3 separate regions of the Homo sapiens genome follow, and regions 2 and 3 are each linked to region 1. The links are contacts of gene promoters, found by promoter capture Hi-C in blood cells and fetal thymus (Javierre and others, 2016). All regions are on one chromosome and are shown on one strand. The core of a region is centred on a gene start or on the middle of the fragment in contact, and the rest is flanking DNA. Distances in the headings are between cores, read along the strand shown. Region 1 holds the start of OR5B21 (olfactory receptor family 5 subfamily B member 21). Region 2 holds the start of PRG3 (proteoglycan 3, pro eosinophil major basic protein 2). Region 3 overlaps SLC43A3 (solute carrier family 43 member 3).

The links. The method cuts DNA at HindIII sites, captures the fragments that hold promoters and counts their contacts. A CHiCAGO score of 5 or more calls a contact.
Region 2: the fragment with the promoter of PRG3 here is called in contact with the fragment with the promoter of OR5B21 in region 1 in 12 of 17 cell types (non-activated CD4 T cells, total CD4 T cells, total B cells and 9 more); the score reaches 12.5 in non-activated CD4 T cells.
Region 3: a contact is called between a fragment that was not itself captured here and the fragment with the promoter of OR5B21 in region 1, in 1 of 17 cell types (total CD8 T cells). The highest score is 5.2, in total CD8 T cells.

What each region holds. Positions count from the first base shown.
Region 1 is chr11:58,505,478-58,510,212 of GRCh38, forward strand. It overlaps OR5B21 (olfactory receptor family 5 subfamily B member 21), which reads right to left and starts at 2,628. Exons shown (of 1, transcript NM_001005218.3): 1 at 1,330-2,628. The coding sequence starts at 2,628. The coding sequence ends at 1,699. It overlaps LOC105369313 (a long non-coding RNA gene), which reads right to left. Exons shown (of 5, transcript XR_007062673.1): 3 at 1-65. The HindIII fragment of the contact is 6,996 bases long and covers 1,485-4,735 here.
Region 2 is chr11:57,378,629-57,383,363 of GRCh38, forward strand. PRG3 (proteoglycan 3, pro eosinophil major basic protein 2) reads right to left here and starts at 2,522. Exons shown (of 6, transcript NM_006093.4): 1 at 2,486-2,522; 2 at 2,020-2,153; 3 at 866-1,179; 4 at 53-184. The coding sequence starts at 2,080. RefSeq lists an enhancer at 711-1,910. The HindIII fragment of the contact is 3,099 bases long and covers 506-3,604 here.
Region 3 is chr11:57,413,880-57,418,614 of GRCh38, forward strand. SLC43A3 (solute carrier family 43 member 3) reads right to left here. Exons shown (of 14, transcript NM_199329.3): 8 at 3,869-4,008; 9 at 2,694-2,791; 10 at 1,054-1,227; 11 at 736-852. Among named protein-coding and RNA genes, the nearest start is that of SLC43A3, 11 kb to the right of the region's middle. RefSeq lists an enhancer at 698-1,198. The HindIII fragment of the contact is 1,566 bases long and covers 1,853-3,418 here.

The DNA of each region.
Region 1 (4,735 bases), core at 1,378-3,877:
GAATGCACCCAGTGCTTGGATAGCTGCTTCCCAGGCTCTTCTCCAAATGCAGATACTCTTGAGCTCTGTAGATTTCAATGAGAAAGATTCCTATATGCAGTGGATCCTGGCCTGTAAAGGCTGTTCTTCCTGTGTGTTGCTGAATAGGCCTCATTGCTAAAGAAGAGGGGAGGGAGGGGGCTGAATGGGGGAGGTATAGGTTGTCTAGGCCTTGGGCTCAGAAGCTCCTGATCTTTTCAGGTGATGGCAACCATGTGCCAGAGAAAGCTATTCTCATGTTTCTCATGTTCCATAACTCCTTCTTTGCAATTTTTCCCAGAAGACTTATGATTTATCCTCCTCAGACAGAGGCTGCCCTGTACATAATGGAGCTTGATAATCTGAAAACTAAATTGACATTTTAAGCCAACTGAGTTAGCCAACCAAGATTTCTGGTTTTCATCTATAAGGTCAAAATTAATTTGTTGGGTTTTTTGGGGAGATTTTGAAATCATGATCTATTGTGGTGACTTAGATTAACTGTAGTTATAAACACCATCAAGGAGTTGATACGTGAGAAGTGAAATTAATCACCACTCCCTTCCCACACACACACATTTGCTCACACCATCTAGCACATGAAACAAGACCTGAAGGTGTACTAGCACTGTGCGTCACCGTGCTGTTCCTAAGAAGTAAATTTCCAGGCAGGCTTTTTTATTCTTGTAGCATCTAATTACAGAACACCGGAATGCAATGGAGACCCAGAGGTGAGCTGAATTATTGAAAAAGTAAAAGCAAAGACAGTCCAGAAAGCTATTATATATCTTCATAATAGATTCACCAAACTTAAGGGTGCTAAGAAATGCAAGCATTTAATTCAGAAAACAAATATATTTTTTCATAGCTCTAGGGAAAACTGCTTTTTTTCTCTAAACCTTCTGGAAGTTTTGGTAATTATGTTAGACAGAGACAAGAAACATAAAAGATAGTGTAGGCTCTCCGAAGGAAGTTGTATTTAGTCAGGTTAAAGTTGAAGTAATTCATCTATTAAAGCATTCCCATATTTCTGTATATAACAAGGTGTAATGTTTCCCCAATGATTTAGCAAAAGGGAATGGAAATTACAAAGGCACATGACTAGTGAGTAGGATAGGAATGTGGGTAGAGAAGGGAGAGTAAGGGGTTGGAAAGATTTAATCGTCAGCTACCTGACTCGATCTAGTGCCTTGTCCTTTAAATTACAACTTTCTCTCAAATATCATTTAAAATATTGAAACATCCTTTGTCTACCTCAGAAAGTCCAACTTTCAAACTCGCAGAACAAAAGAATAAAAAAGATACTGTGTGTTCAGTTGATAAAAATGAAGGTGAAATCTTTACACCAAGTTTAATAGTGAATGAAAAATTCTTACAATTAAAAACAGGATGAGGAAAATTTGGTACATTCATTTGTATGCTTCAATCTTCTGCTTTAAACCACGTCAAGAAACTAAAGCAAGAAAAGCTTAACTGTCCCATGTTGTTGTTCACTAAATATAAGATTATCTTTCTAAGTAAGACTTTCAACGTGCTGCTTTTTACATCTTCTAATAGCAGAAGTAACCGCTGTTCTTGGGGAAGAAAGAACTGAAACCAGTCAAACGTTAAAAGTCATGATGGCATTTAGGTGTGAGAGAAAGTTTATCCCTTAATTGCTTGCCTACTTCCCATTCACATTTAATATTGGGGGTAAAGTTTGTTGAGTATTTTCCAGAGAGCACTTTTCACTTCTTTGTTCCTAAGGCTGTATATCAAGGGATTCAGCATGGGAATCACCACTGTGTAAAACACAGAGGCTATTTTGTCTGTGTCCACGGACTGGCTGGAGTTGGGCTGTAAGTACATGAAGATGATTGTGCCATAGAAGATGGACAAAGCAGTGAGATGGGAAGCACAGGTGGAGAAGACTTTCTTCTGCCCTTCAGCAGAATGCATCCTCTGAATGGTGATGCATATGAAGAAGTAAGAAATAAGGATGACCAGGAGGGTGAAAAAGACGTTGAAGCCTGCCACAAAGACCACCAACTTGCTGATGCGTGTGTCAGAGCATGAGAGAGCCAGGAGTGGGGGAATGTCACAGAAGAAATGATTAATCTCATTAGAACCACAGAAGGAGAGTCTGAAGGTGCCTGCTGCATGGATAGAGGCATTGAGGAAGCCAGAGACATAGGAACCAGTAGCAAGGAGGGCACACACACCTGCTGTCATGGTGGTGGTGTAATGAAGAGGCCTACATACCGCTGCATGGCGATCATAGGCCATGGAGGCCAGGAGGTAGCACTCAACAGTGGCAAACCCCACAAAGAAGAAGAACTGAGCTGCACATCCATCGTAGGAGATGGCCTTGTCCCCTGACCGCAATGCAGCCACCGTTTTGGGGGCTACAGCTGATGAGTAACCCAAGTCTACAAGGGAGAGGTTACTGAGGAAAAAGTACATTGGAGTGTGGAGATGGGAGTCTGAGTGGATGATCACCATCATTCCCCCATTCCCAAGCAGGGTGATGAGGTAGATGAATAAAAATGCCAGGAGGAGGGGTATCTGAAGATTGGGGTCATCTGTTAATCCCAAGAGGATAAACTCTGTCACTTCTGTGCTATTCTCCATTGTGGCCAGCTTGAATTAGCCTGGTGATTAAAGAAGAGGCGTCAACAAAATTCCAATGAAAGTATGAGAAGGGAGGATGGAATGATAAAAAAGGAGAAAACTAATGTATAGAGAGAATGTACTGTGTGTAACACTCATCCTAGAACCCTCTGTTATATTATAGCTTTTAATTCATATGAGATAGGTGCTATTATGCCCATCTTACAGATAAGGAAGTTAAGGCTCAGGGAGCTGAATATTGAGCAAGATAGCCTATCTAGGGGTCAGAATCAAAGTTCACCCCTTTATATTTCTGAATCTAAAGTTCATACATTCATCTTGAATTCTTTAACACATTTACATCATATAAATACAAATTATGATGTGGATATAAGATTGTATGTATTTAATTATTAAAAATAAAAACATCCATCACTTATTGTCTTCCACATTCTACTTCCAATAATATAGCCTCACTAAAGATTTTCTAAATTTATTTTTCCTTAAAACAACACAAGTTTATTCTCTCAAAATTCTGGAGGCCAGAAGCCTCAAATCAGTTTCACTGGGCCAAAATCAAGGTGTTGGCAGGACAAGGTGGTGCCCTCAAGGTCTGTTTGATACTAAATCCAAAGATCTTAACCACAACTTTTGAAGCCTTTATAAATTAATCCCTCAACAGTAGTTCAACTGAAAGGGAGTATGGTATATGTAAATATGAGTATGTATTTATATATATTTAATATAAAACTATAAATTTGATATATACAAATGGCTTTGTGTATCTGTGTATATGCATATGTCTTTTTTCACCCCTTATCAGAAGTCTTTGCTGTAGACCCTAATTCCAGTTAAGTCCTCCTTTCTCTCCCTCCTCAAAGCACTTGAGTCTTGGCTGATTATTGCACAATTAGCTGGGCAACCACTCACTCTTCACCTAGCTCTAAGCCCCTTGGGACAGTAACTATCTTCATCCCCTCTGGTCCACTCTCCTTACCATGGCCCCTCACACATGTATGTAAATATTTGGTGAATCAAACAGAACATCAATAGGAAAGTATGGAAATATTTTTCATGCTCTTTAATCCCACAACAAACATCCTATCATCCTCTTGTCTACCAGGTTTGTGCTTTGGGCCAAAATATTAGCTTAGACTTGTCATATGAAAAATATTCAGGAGTAACAGTGAGTTTGCAGATGGTCAGGCCTGGAGACAGGTTTCTGTCCTCATTTTAGAGCATTCTTTCTCTCCTATTTTTGTTCCTCAACCTGAGGTGTTCACAGGCTTTCCCCACTCCTAGTAGCAGAGTGAGTGGGAGCAGACTCAGAAGAAGTGAGGGAGAAAATGTGAGAAGAGAGGAGGAAAAAGGAGAAAACAGGAATTAAAGGAGAAAAATGCTTCAGCTCTGCTGGACTTTAGCTTACCTTGAAGAGTAACAGCAGCAATTTGATTGGTGACACAAAAAGAAGGGGATAGTGTAGCTTGTCCTTTTTGGATGACCATCACACACACACGATGTGGCTAGTTTCATAAGAACTGGCTCAGTCAGCTTGGTACATTACTATCCAGTAATGTACTAATTGACTTTCTGACCAGCATCACTTTCTATTATATTTATCCAGCCTTTTTTAACTTGTTTTTCTTTTGACTTTTGACATGTGTGTATACTCTCAAATTTAGCAAACACAATATCCTGTAATCTATGACAGGCAGTGTTCTGATCTTACATATTTGGAAACAGAAGGATGTGGTGCCCCTCAAGGTCACATAACTGCTTAACTGTAAAATCTGTACAATTCCAGAGCCTGGTTTTTCAGCCTCAGCACTACTGACATTATGAGCTGGACAGTTCTTTGGTGCAGGGTGTGGTGGGGGAGAGGGAGTGCTGTCCTGTGCATTGTAAGATATTCAGCAGTTTCCCTGGCCTCTCTCTAATCACTAGATTCCAGTAACACCACCACCTCCCATTTGTAACAGTCAAAAATGTCTCCAGACGTGGCCAAATGTCCCCTGAAGGGTAACATTCCCCTGATTGAGAACCACTGTTCTAGAGCTTTTAAAAAACAGTGGTTCTAAAGTTTATAAAACTCTTTTTGCATTCACTTCTTAATTTAATTATTGCATGA
Region 2 (4,735 bases), core at 1,272-3,771, 1.1 Mb before region 1:
TTAACACATTCAGAAAGAACTTACTGCACCCAAGATTTGGCCCCTGACTTACCCAGCCCCTGAGGTTGCCTCCAATCCAGACCTGGGCTTGGTTGACTGTGCTAGTGCAGCACTGAATGCGATAGTTGAAGTTGAAGTCATGGATAGAGACAAGGTTGCCTCCGTAGCATCTGCTGCAGACATTCTGCAGACGGAAACAAAGTAGAGAATTCCCTCTCATTTATTTCAAGTTTCTGAGTCTCCAGGCAAGAGCCCGGCATCCCTTTTCAGGTTAAAAATAAACCTACTTGCCTCCCTTAATCCTATCTTTTGCTTCTTAATTAGCTGTCAGGACAATCCTACAGGAAATGATAATACTCATAATAATTATAACCACCGCTTATTGAGAGTTTATTACAGCCCAGTGACTATTCCAAACACTTTTCATGTATTATCTCATTTAATGCTCACCACAACTCTAAGAAGTTGGTGCTATATATCTTCGTTTTACAAATGAAGGTGCTAAAGCTTTGAAAGGCAAAGCAACTTGCCCAGGTAACACAGCTAATAAAAGGCAGAACCAGAATTTAACACAGGCGTTTCTAACACCAAAGCCTTTTGTTTAAATCGGTGGTTCTCCCCAGACCAACAATATCATCATCACCTGGGGATTTGTTGTAAATGCAAATTCTCAGGCTTCACCTCAGCCCTCCTAAATCAGAAGTCGTGCAGGTGAGGCCCAGAAAGCTGTGTTTTAACAACAACTCCAGGTGATTCTGATGCATGCGAGGCTTTGAGAACCACTAGCCTAAATGAATAGGGAACAGAAGACTGAATGTACTCTCTTTTCCCCCAGGTCCTCCGCAGTAGCCTCCCTACTACTTACCTGAGCTTCTGCAAAAGTTTTAGGAGTCCGCACCAATAGGTAGCGGCAGATCTTGCACCTTGGACTTCCCTGCACTTCAACAATGTCTTCTTCCCTGGGGCACTGGAAGTCCTTGTCTAAGGCAGCTGGGTCCGACTCCATGGCTTCCTCATCCTCAAAGTTGTCTTGACAGGCAGAAGCCTTGACCTCCTCTCCCTCTGCCTGAATCACCTCCTCCGTCAGAGCCAAGTCTCTCTCCTGCTCCTTTGAACTATCCAGATCCTGGCCTAGGTCTGCCTGTGTCTCTAGGCTCTCCAGATGGGGGGCATCATTCTCTGGGAAGAAGAGGTAACCTGCCATCAGGTCAAGAGCTTCCTAGTTCCAGCACCGTGGACAGCTCCAGCAACGTCGCTCGAGCTTTCCTAGGAATTCCACCTGAAGACAAGACTGGAGGATTTCCTTGGTGTTAGGTAAGGAGAGATCTCTCGGGTCACACCCACAAATGGACAAGAACCTGACTTCTGGCCGACACCACGAGTGTGTGTTTTGAAGGTGGGAGAAAGCACGTGTGAGAAGCCTGGGGCAGTCACCAGCCCTTCATCTTAACAGGTGGGTGGTTTTTCCTTCTGAAAGTTCAGGTTACAGTTTGCCGGGTGCGGTGGCTCACGCCTGTAATCCCAGCACTTTGGGAGGCCGGGGCGGGCGAATCACAAGGTTAGGAGTTTGAGACCAGCCTGGCAAATATGGTGAAACCCCATCTCTACTAAAAATACAAAGATTAGCCAGGCGTGGTGGCATGTGCCTGTAGTCCCAGCTACTCAGGAGGCTGAGGCAGAAGAATTGCTTGAACCCGGGAGGCGGAGTTTGTGGTGAGCCGAGATCGCGCCACTGCACTCCAGCCTGGGCAACAGAGCGAGACTCCGTCTCAAAACAAAACAAAAAACAAACAAAAAAAAAAACAAAAACAACAACAACAAAAAAAAATCAAACAAAAAAGAGAAAGTTCCAGGTTACAGTTCTGAGTCCAAGTGATATCTTACCGGAGATGAGCTGTATCAGCTAAAGAGGGAAGGCTGTGGTCCTGGCCTCATGAGTGCAAATAAAAGCGGGGGGAGGGGAGTGTAGGAAAAAGGAAAAAAGGGAAAGACGCATGAGGAGGGAAGGGAGAGACTTACCCAGATGAAGAGCAGAAACTGTTCCCAGCAGGAGAAAGGGCAGGAGCAAGAGGCATTGCATATCTACTGTCTTTTAGCGAGGACACTACTCCACCGTCCTTCTTGGGGCTGTCTTTGTGTGTCTAGTATAGCCCCTGGCACATAGTATAGAGGGAATATTTGTTTAATTGTTTGATTAAAGAGCAAACAAGATTGCTTTCTCCTCTTGCCATGAACAGACCCTGAGCTGGAGAGTCTAGAAAAGGAATGGTGGGAGGGATAACTCAGGTACCAAATTTCATTTGTCTTCCAGTCTCCGTTGCTGCTCTCCAGTATCACCCTTAGCCCAGACTCCTGCCCCTGCGGGGACAGGTCTGCTTAGCTATGATGTTCCTAAGGACAGGCCTCCTACGTGTTTGCCCTATGAGGTGCTGCTTCTTCCCAGGGCCTACACTGGTCCTGCCTGGGCAGCCAGAAAAGAACTCACCTTCCAAGAGTCTGAGACCTCCACTCTCAGTGCCTCTGGCTTCAGGGGCCAGAAGCAGCCTTTATACTGGGTTTTTGGGGAAGTGGGAAGAGGCCAGAATGATTGCTCCAGGACAGAGTGGGGGACAAAGGAGCTGATAATGAAGTTTGCTCAGTCTTCTCAACCCTGTGCCCTGCTCTCTGCTGGGACTGCAGGGACCTGCCTCCTGGGGCCTACTGCCTTGTTTGGGTACCCCACACCCTGGTTTGCTTCAGAAGGCCCTAGATGTTATGTCCATTGTCCAGGCATAATTATTATTTATGCCCCCTAAAATGCCCCAGTCTGAACAACACGCCTTAACTCCAGGAGTAGCCTCCTGCTGGTGGAATCCCAGAGAGTGAAGTGGAGATCCCAGGGAGCTGGTGGGAGACAATGGGGGGAAGAAACAAGAGGGGAAAGGGAGGTTCAGTGCTCCCAAGCTCTCACCCATCCTAGGGGCATAGTGTGCAACACACCCCTCACCCTCATCTCCGCATCATCTCCACCAGGTACCACCCCTACTTCACAGAGGCAAAATGTGAGATTCAGAGAAAGAGAGAAGGCAACTTGCCAAGGTTCCATGGGAAGTGGAAGAACTGGAATTTCTAAGTCTTTTTGACTCCAAAACCTTCTCTCTTTCTTTCCTCTCTCTCTTTTTTCTCTCCCTTCCTCTTTCTCATCTTTTTTTTTTTTCTTTTTGAGACGGAGTCTTGCTCTGTCGCCCAGGCTGGAGTGCAATGGCAAGATTTTGGCTCACTGCAAGCTCCACCTCCCGGGTTCAAGCGCTTCTCCTGCCTCAGCCTCCCAAGTAGCTGGCTAATTTTTTGTATTTTTAGTAGAGATGGGGTTTCACTATGCTGGCCAGGCTGGTCTTGAACTCCTGACCTCGTGATCCACCCACTTCGGCCTCCCAAAATGCTGGGATTACAGGCATGAGCCACTGTGCCTGTCCTCATCTTTTTTTTTTTTAAGAGACAAAATCTTGCTCTGTCACCCAGGCTGGAGTGCAGTGCTGCGATGATAGTTCACTGTAACCCTGAATTCCTGGGCTCAAGTAATCCTCCTGCCACAGCCTCCTGAGTCACAGGGATTACAGGCACAAGCTTTCTCATCTTTAATGTGTGAAAAATCTACATCCTTTCTTCTGTGCTGTGGATCTAGATCAAGGTTCCTCAACTTTGTGCTATTAATATGTGAGGTCAAATAACTCTTTATTGTGGAGGGGCTGTCCTGGGCGTTGTAGAAAGTTTAATGGTCCCTCTGGTCTCTACTCACCAGATGTCAGTAGCCCCTCTCCCCACCCCCGCAGATGATCAAAAATGTCTCCACATGTTTCCAAATGTCCTCTGGGGAGAAAAATGGCCCCAGTTGAGGATCTCTGATCTAGGATATGCCACCTTGCCCAACCTCAAGGCATAGCTTCAGGGCTGGCAAACAGGCAGCATGAAAAGCTCCATACAGAGTCTCTCCAGCACTCTGTAGATCATCCTCTCCAACCAACACTCCCCTCCTCACCTCCCATCTCCCACCAGTCTTCTGTCACCCCAGGGTCTGGACTAGAATCAGGCAGGGGAGGCTCTCAACTCAGACACACTAAGAAATTAAGGGGACACTAAGAAATTTACTATTCAAGATAAATAACATTTTAATGCAACATTTCTTAAAAATTGAAATTAATGCAAAACAAAACATCAAAATTTTAACTGACCAAGCTCTAGACAAAATTTGCTGCACTTTAAAGAGAGGCCAGCATGTCTCAAGCCTTGAATTTGCCAGATGTCTCTGCCAAGAGCTAGTGGACTTGTCAGGGTGAACTCAGAGGCATCCTTGTGGGATGCTTCTCAGAACTATGCCTGGCACATGAGTGGAGGGTGACCCTTGTCAATTAAAATGTGCAGATTGGTAGGACCGGGCACGGTGGCTCATGCCTGTAATTCCAGCACTTTGGGAGGCATGTGCGGGTGGATCACCTGAGGTCAGGTATTTGAGACCAGCCTGCCCAACACAGTGAAACCCTGTCTCTACTAAAAATACAAAAATTAGCCGGGCGTGGTGGTGGGCACCTGTAATCCCAGCTACTCAGGAGACTGAGGTGGAAGAATAACTTGAACCCGGGAGGCAGATGCTGCTGTGAGCAGAGATCACGCCACGGCACTCCAGCCTGGGCGACGGAGCGAGACTCTGTCTCAAAAAAAAAAAAAAAAAAAAGTACAGATTTATTCCCCATATTCC
Region 3 (4,735 bases), core at 1,386-3,885, 1.1 Mb before region 1:
CTCTTCATCTCCTCCCTCCTTACTCATCCTTCAGGTCTTGGCTTAGGTGCCATTCCCTCCAGGAAGCCTTCCCTGACACCAATCCCATCCTCACCTAGAACAGATTATGTGCGCTTCTTTGTGCCCCCCATGGCCCCCTGTGGGTTTGCTTCACGGATTATAACTGCCTGACTACCTGCCTTTCTCCACCCTCTAGACTGAGAACACCTTGAGAAAAAGAACACATCTATCTTGTCTGTCATTGAATCCCTGGTGTCTGGCACCATGGCTGACACATAACTATCACTCAGTGACTAGTGTTTTAATGAATGAATGAGTGCAACTAGACAGGGTTAAGAACAAAAGAGAAGACCAGGCATGGTGCTTCACGCCTGTTATCCCAGCATTTTGGGAGGCTGAGGCGGGCAGATCACCCGAGGTCAGGAGTTCAAGACCAGCCTGACATGGTGAAACCCCGTCTCTACTAAAAAGACAAAAATTAGTGGGGGATGGTGGCACACGCCTGTAATCCCAGCTACTTGGGAGGCTGAGGCAGGAGAATCTCTTGAACCCAGGAGGTGCAGGCTGCAATGATCTGAGATCACACCACTGCACTCCAGCCTGGGCAACAGAGTAAGACTCTATCACAAAAAAAAAAAAAAAAAAAAAAAAAAGAGCGAGAGAAGATGTCATGGGGTAAATGAAGACCTCCCTTCCTGGTTCCCTGACCAGCCCCTGCCCTCCCCCGCATCTCACCTGTCTTTCTTGCTTCCTTCTGGTACTTCTGTTTAAGCCGGTCCATGAGCAGGCCATTCCAGGGGGCACACAGCACTCCGAACTGAGTGAAGGCAAAGGCATTTGTGTAGGTGCTGACTGCAGAAGGAAGAGAGAGGTTGGTTGATGAGAAGTTTCCAAAACTCCCTTCCAGGCAGGGACTCTCCCACCTTACCCTTGTCTGCATGTCCCTCCTCCCCACACCATCAGACCCTCCTCTGGTGTGTACAGCCCTGCTGGGAGGCTCTGTGTTCCCAGCTGGGACATGCAGATGGGCTACCTCCCAGCCCTACCACATACCTCGTGCCATGTCCCCACCGGCCATGTTGGTCAGCAAGGAGTTGAGAGTGCCAATGAAGAGGTAGTGCCACAACTGTATCACAGACAGCCACACCAGGTGCCAGGCAAAGCGCCGAGAGAAAGCGTAGCTCCAGAAGGAGCGGAGTTCCTGCTTCTGCCCTGCCCCTGGGGTCTCTAATGGGGAGAGGAGGATCTGGGCGTGAATTACGAGGAAAGTGGACAGGTAGGATGGGGAGTGTGGAGGCTTCAATGGAACATTTCAGATCCGGGCCCACCTTCTACCCTTGGCTCCCAGAACTCACCCGGCGTGCTCTGCACCTGCCTCGGACTCACACATCCCCACCTCCCTGCTTTGTCATGCTGGCCCTACCACCTTGGATGACCCTCTGTGTTCTTCTCTATTGAAATCCGATCTGTCTCTCACAGCCTGGTCAATGACACTTCTTGCAGTAATACCTTCCTGATCTTTCTCAGCGAGAAAGGTGAAAGGAACGACAAGGAGAGGAGAAAGTCAGAAGGGAGAGGAGAATGAGTGTGGATACTCTGTTCTAACCTGCTCCTCAGCACCTCCCTTTCTTTTGATACCAGTATCCTGAGTTTCTTTGGGAAATCTTCCTCTACCCTAATCTTCATGGTCCAGATGGGACCATGAATTCAGTGTTCTGTTCCTCTCTCAAGGTTAACCAATGAGATGGTTCCTCCTAACAAGGCAGACCGGCCATGAGTTTAGATTAGGATGGACTTAATCTAAAATAGGTCCTACACCCTGGCAAGTTCAATGTCCTCCCTTGATTTTGGAAGCTTCCCAGAACCCTATTCTTCTTTCTTTAAAATAAATAAATAAATACATGTTTTGGATCCAATTGTCAGATGGTAAAAATAAAAACAAAAAAATCAATTTTATTCTGTATATTTAAGATATACAATATGAGGTCATAGGATACATATAGCTACTAAGATGGTTACTACAGTTAAGCAAATTAACATATCCATCATCTCACATTTCTACCTGTTTTGTGACAAGAGCAGTTAAAATCTACTTGTTTAGGAAAGTCCCAAACACAATGCAGTTTGATGACCTACAGTCTTCGTGCTGTGCATTAGATCTCTAGGCCTGTTCATCCTGCTCATCTGCTCCTTTTTGTCCTTCGACCTGCATCTCCCATCTCCTCTCCCACCCCGTTCTTATTTCTACTGTAGCTAGCTGCGGTTTGTGATGTGTGTAACCAAAGACGCAGAACAGAGAGGAAGGAAAGGAAGCAGTGATAGAGTTGGGACAATAAGAGAGGGCGGACCCAGGAGACCTGGAGAAATGGGGGCACTGTACCAGACTTAGTGCAATGGCATCACAGAAGAGGGCAGAACCGAGGAGTGGGGGGAAGGGAAGGCAACCCATGGCAGGCGGGCTTCAAGGGGTGGGGAAGTGATAGGATGCGAAATAGAGAAAAGAGGGACAGAAAAGAGACGAAAGCCCTGGACCCTCCATTAAGTGAGAGGGTTGGGAAGATGCCTAAGGCCCTTTTTCTGTCCTGCCTTTCCTGATTCTGGGTCCCTGGGGGAGCTCTGGAGGTGAGGGGCCAGGAAAGGCACAAGGAGAGGCTTGGGTCTGGAGGAGAGATGGGTTAGCCAGCAGGGCTCACCTTCCTTCGCTGAAAGGAACTCCTTTGACTGTAGCTCCCTGTTTTCATGCTCAGCTGTTTCCTTCTCTTCCTTTGTGGTGCCATTCCCAGGGCACAGGCTATGGAAACAAAAGCCCCACCAGCAAGGCCAAGGACTGTGAGCCGAACCTGAGACTCAGACTGGAGGGAATAGCATGGTGAATCCCACATTCCACCGCACTTTGGAATCACCTTTTAGCCACTCTGATGCCCAGGTTGCAGACCAGACCAGTTAAATCAGAATGTCTGGAGGTGAGAGCCAGGCTTCCTTTTCTAAGATCTCTATGTGAATCTAGTGATTCTAATAAGCAGCAAAGTTTAGGAAGCATGAAAAGAGTAGGGCAGGCCCAGGTTCAAATCCCAGCTCTGCCTCTTCCTAGCAACAGAAAGATGGCTCAGACTTAACCCTTCTGAGCCTCATTTTTTGCATTTAGAAAATGGAGATAAGGATATCTCAGAGGATTATTGTGAGGATGAAATCAGAGAGCACATGGGGTCTGACAATTAGTAAGTGAGCAGCAAAGGAATGCCCTTCCTCTACTCCTTGTGGCAAATGACTGCAAAAATGATCACATTTCTTCACCTCCTCTGTATTTCCCCCAATTTGAATGAGACTGCAGCTCTATTTCCCCATGCCCTGAATCTGGGCCAGCCTTGTGAACTGCTTCAGCCAAAAGAATGCAGCAGAAGTGGCTGTGCCAATTCCAAGCTTAAATCTCAAGAACGCTTGTGCATTTCTGCACTCTTTCAGAACCCTGAAATCACGGTGTGAATGAGCCCACGCTGGCTTGCTGGAGGATGACAGCCACGTGACCCAGGCATCCCTGTCACTCCAAACCTATGTGAGTGAGGCCATCCTAGCATAGCCAGCCCCCATGTAATCCTCCAAATGATCAGATGTATGAATGAGCCCTGTCAAAATCATCTACATCTGGCCCTGATCAGCGGAACTAGCCAGCTACCCACAGACTTGTGAAAAATAATAAATGCTTAACATTTTAGGCTGCTGAGTTTTGAGATAGTTTGTTATGCAGCAATAGCTAACAGATGCACTGCTCCAGTCCTCCTCCTCTCCTGTGATAGGTTTGCTTTACCCTGTCCATCCCACCCTAGGGCCAATGAGGGGCTCTGGCCCACAATCACCAGATAGTCCTTACCCATAGCTGTAGTTGGGGGGCAGTGGGTATGGGATGTGCCCCCGGGGCATCAGGAGGAAAGTGCGTGCTACATGCCAGGTACTGCAGACAGAGATGAAGATGAAGGAGGCCCTGAGGCTGATGCCTTTTTCATAAAGAAGCTGCAGAAGGAGAAGGAAAAAGTCAGTGTCACACCCACGTTCATAGCAGCACTATTCACAATAGCCAAAGGATGGAAGCAAACTAAGGGTCCATCAGCAGATGAACAGCTAAACATAATGTGATCTATACACACAATGGAATATTATTCAGCCTTAAAAAAGGAAAGAGGCAACCATGCTGGCTCACACCTACAATCCCAGCACTTTGGGACGCACGAGGATCACCTGAGCCCAGTTCAAGACCAGCCTTGACAACATAGTGAGACCCTCACCCCTTCTCTAGAAAATTTTTATTTAATTAGCTGGGTGTGGTGGCATACACCTGTAGTGCCAGCTACTCAGGAGGCTGAGTGGGAGGATTTCTTGAGCCCAGAAGTTTGAGGCTGCAGTGAGTCATGACTGGGCCACTGCACCCCAGCCTGGACAATGAAACATGACCTTGCCTCCAAATAAAAAAAAAAAAGGAAAGGAAAGAAATTCTGACACATGCTGCAACATGGATGAACTTTAAGAGCACTATGCAGGGCCAAGCTCAGTGGTTCCTGCCTGTAATTCTAGTGCTTTAGAAGACCAAGACAGGAGGATTGCTTGAGTCCAGGAGCTTGAGACCAGCCTGGGAAACAGCAAGACCTCATCTCTACTAAAAATAAATAAATAAATCAGCTGGGCGTGATGGTGCACGCCTGTAATTCCAGCTACTTGGGAGGCTGAGGTGAGAGGATATGAT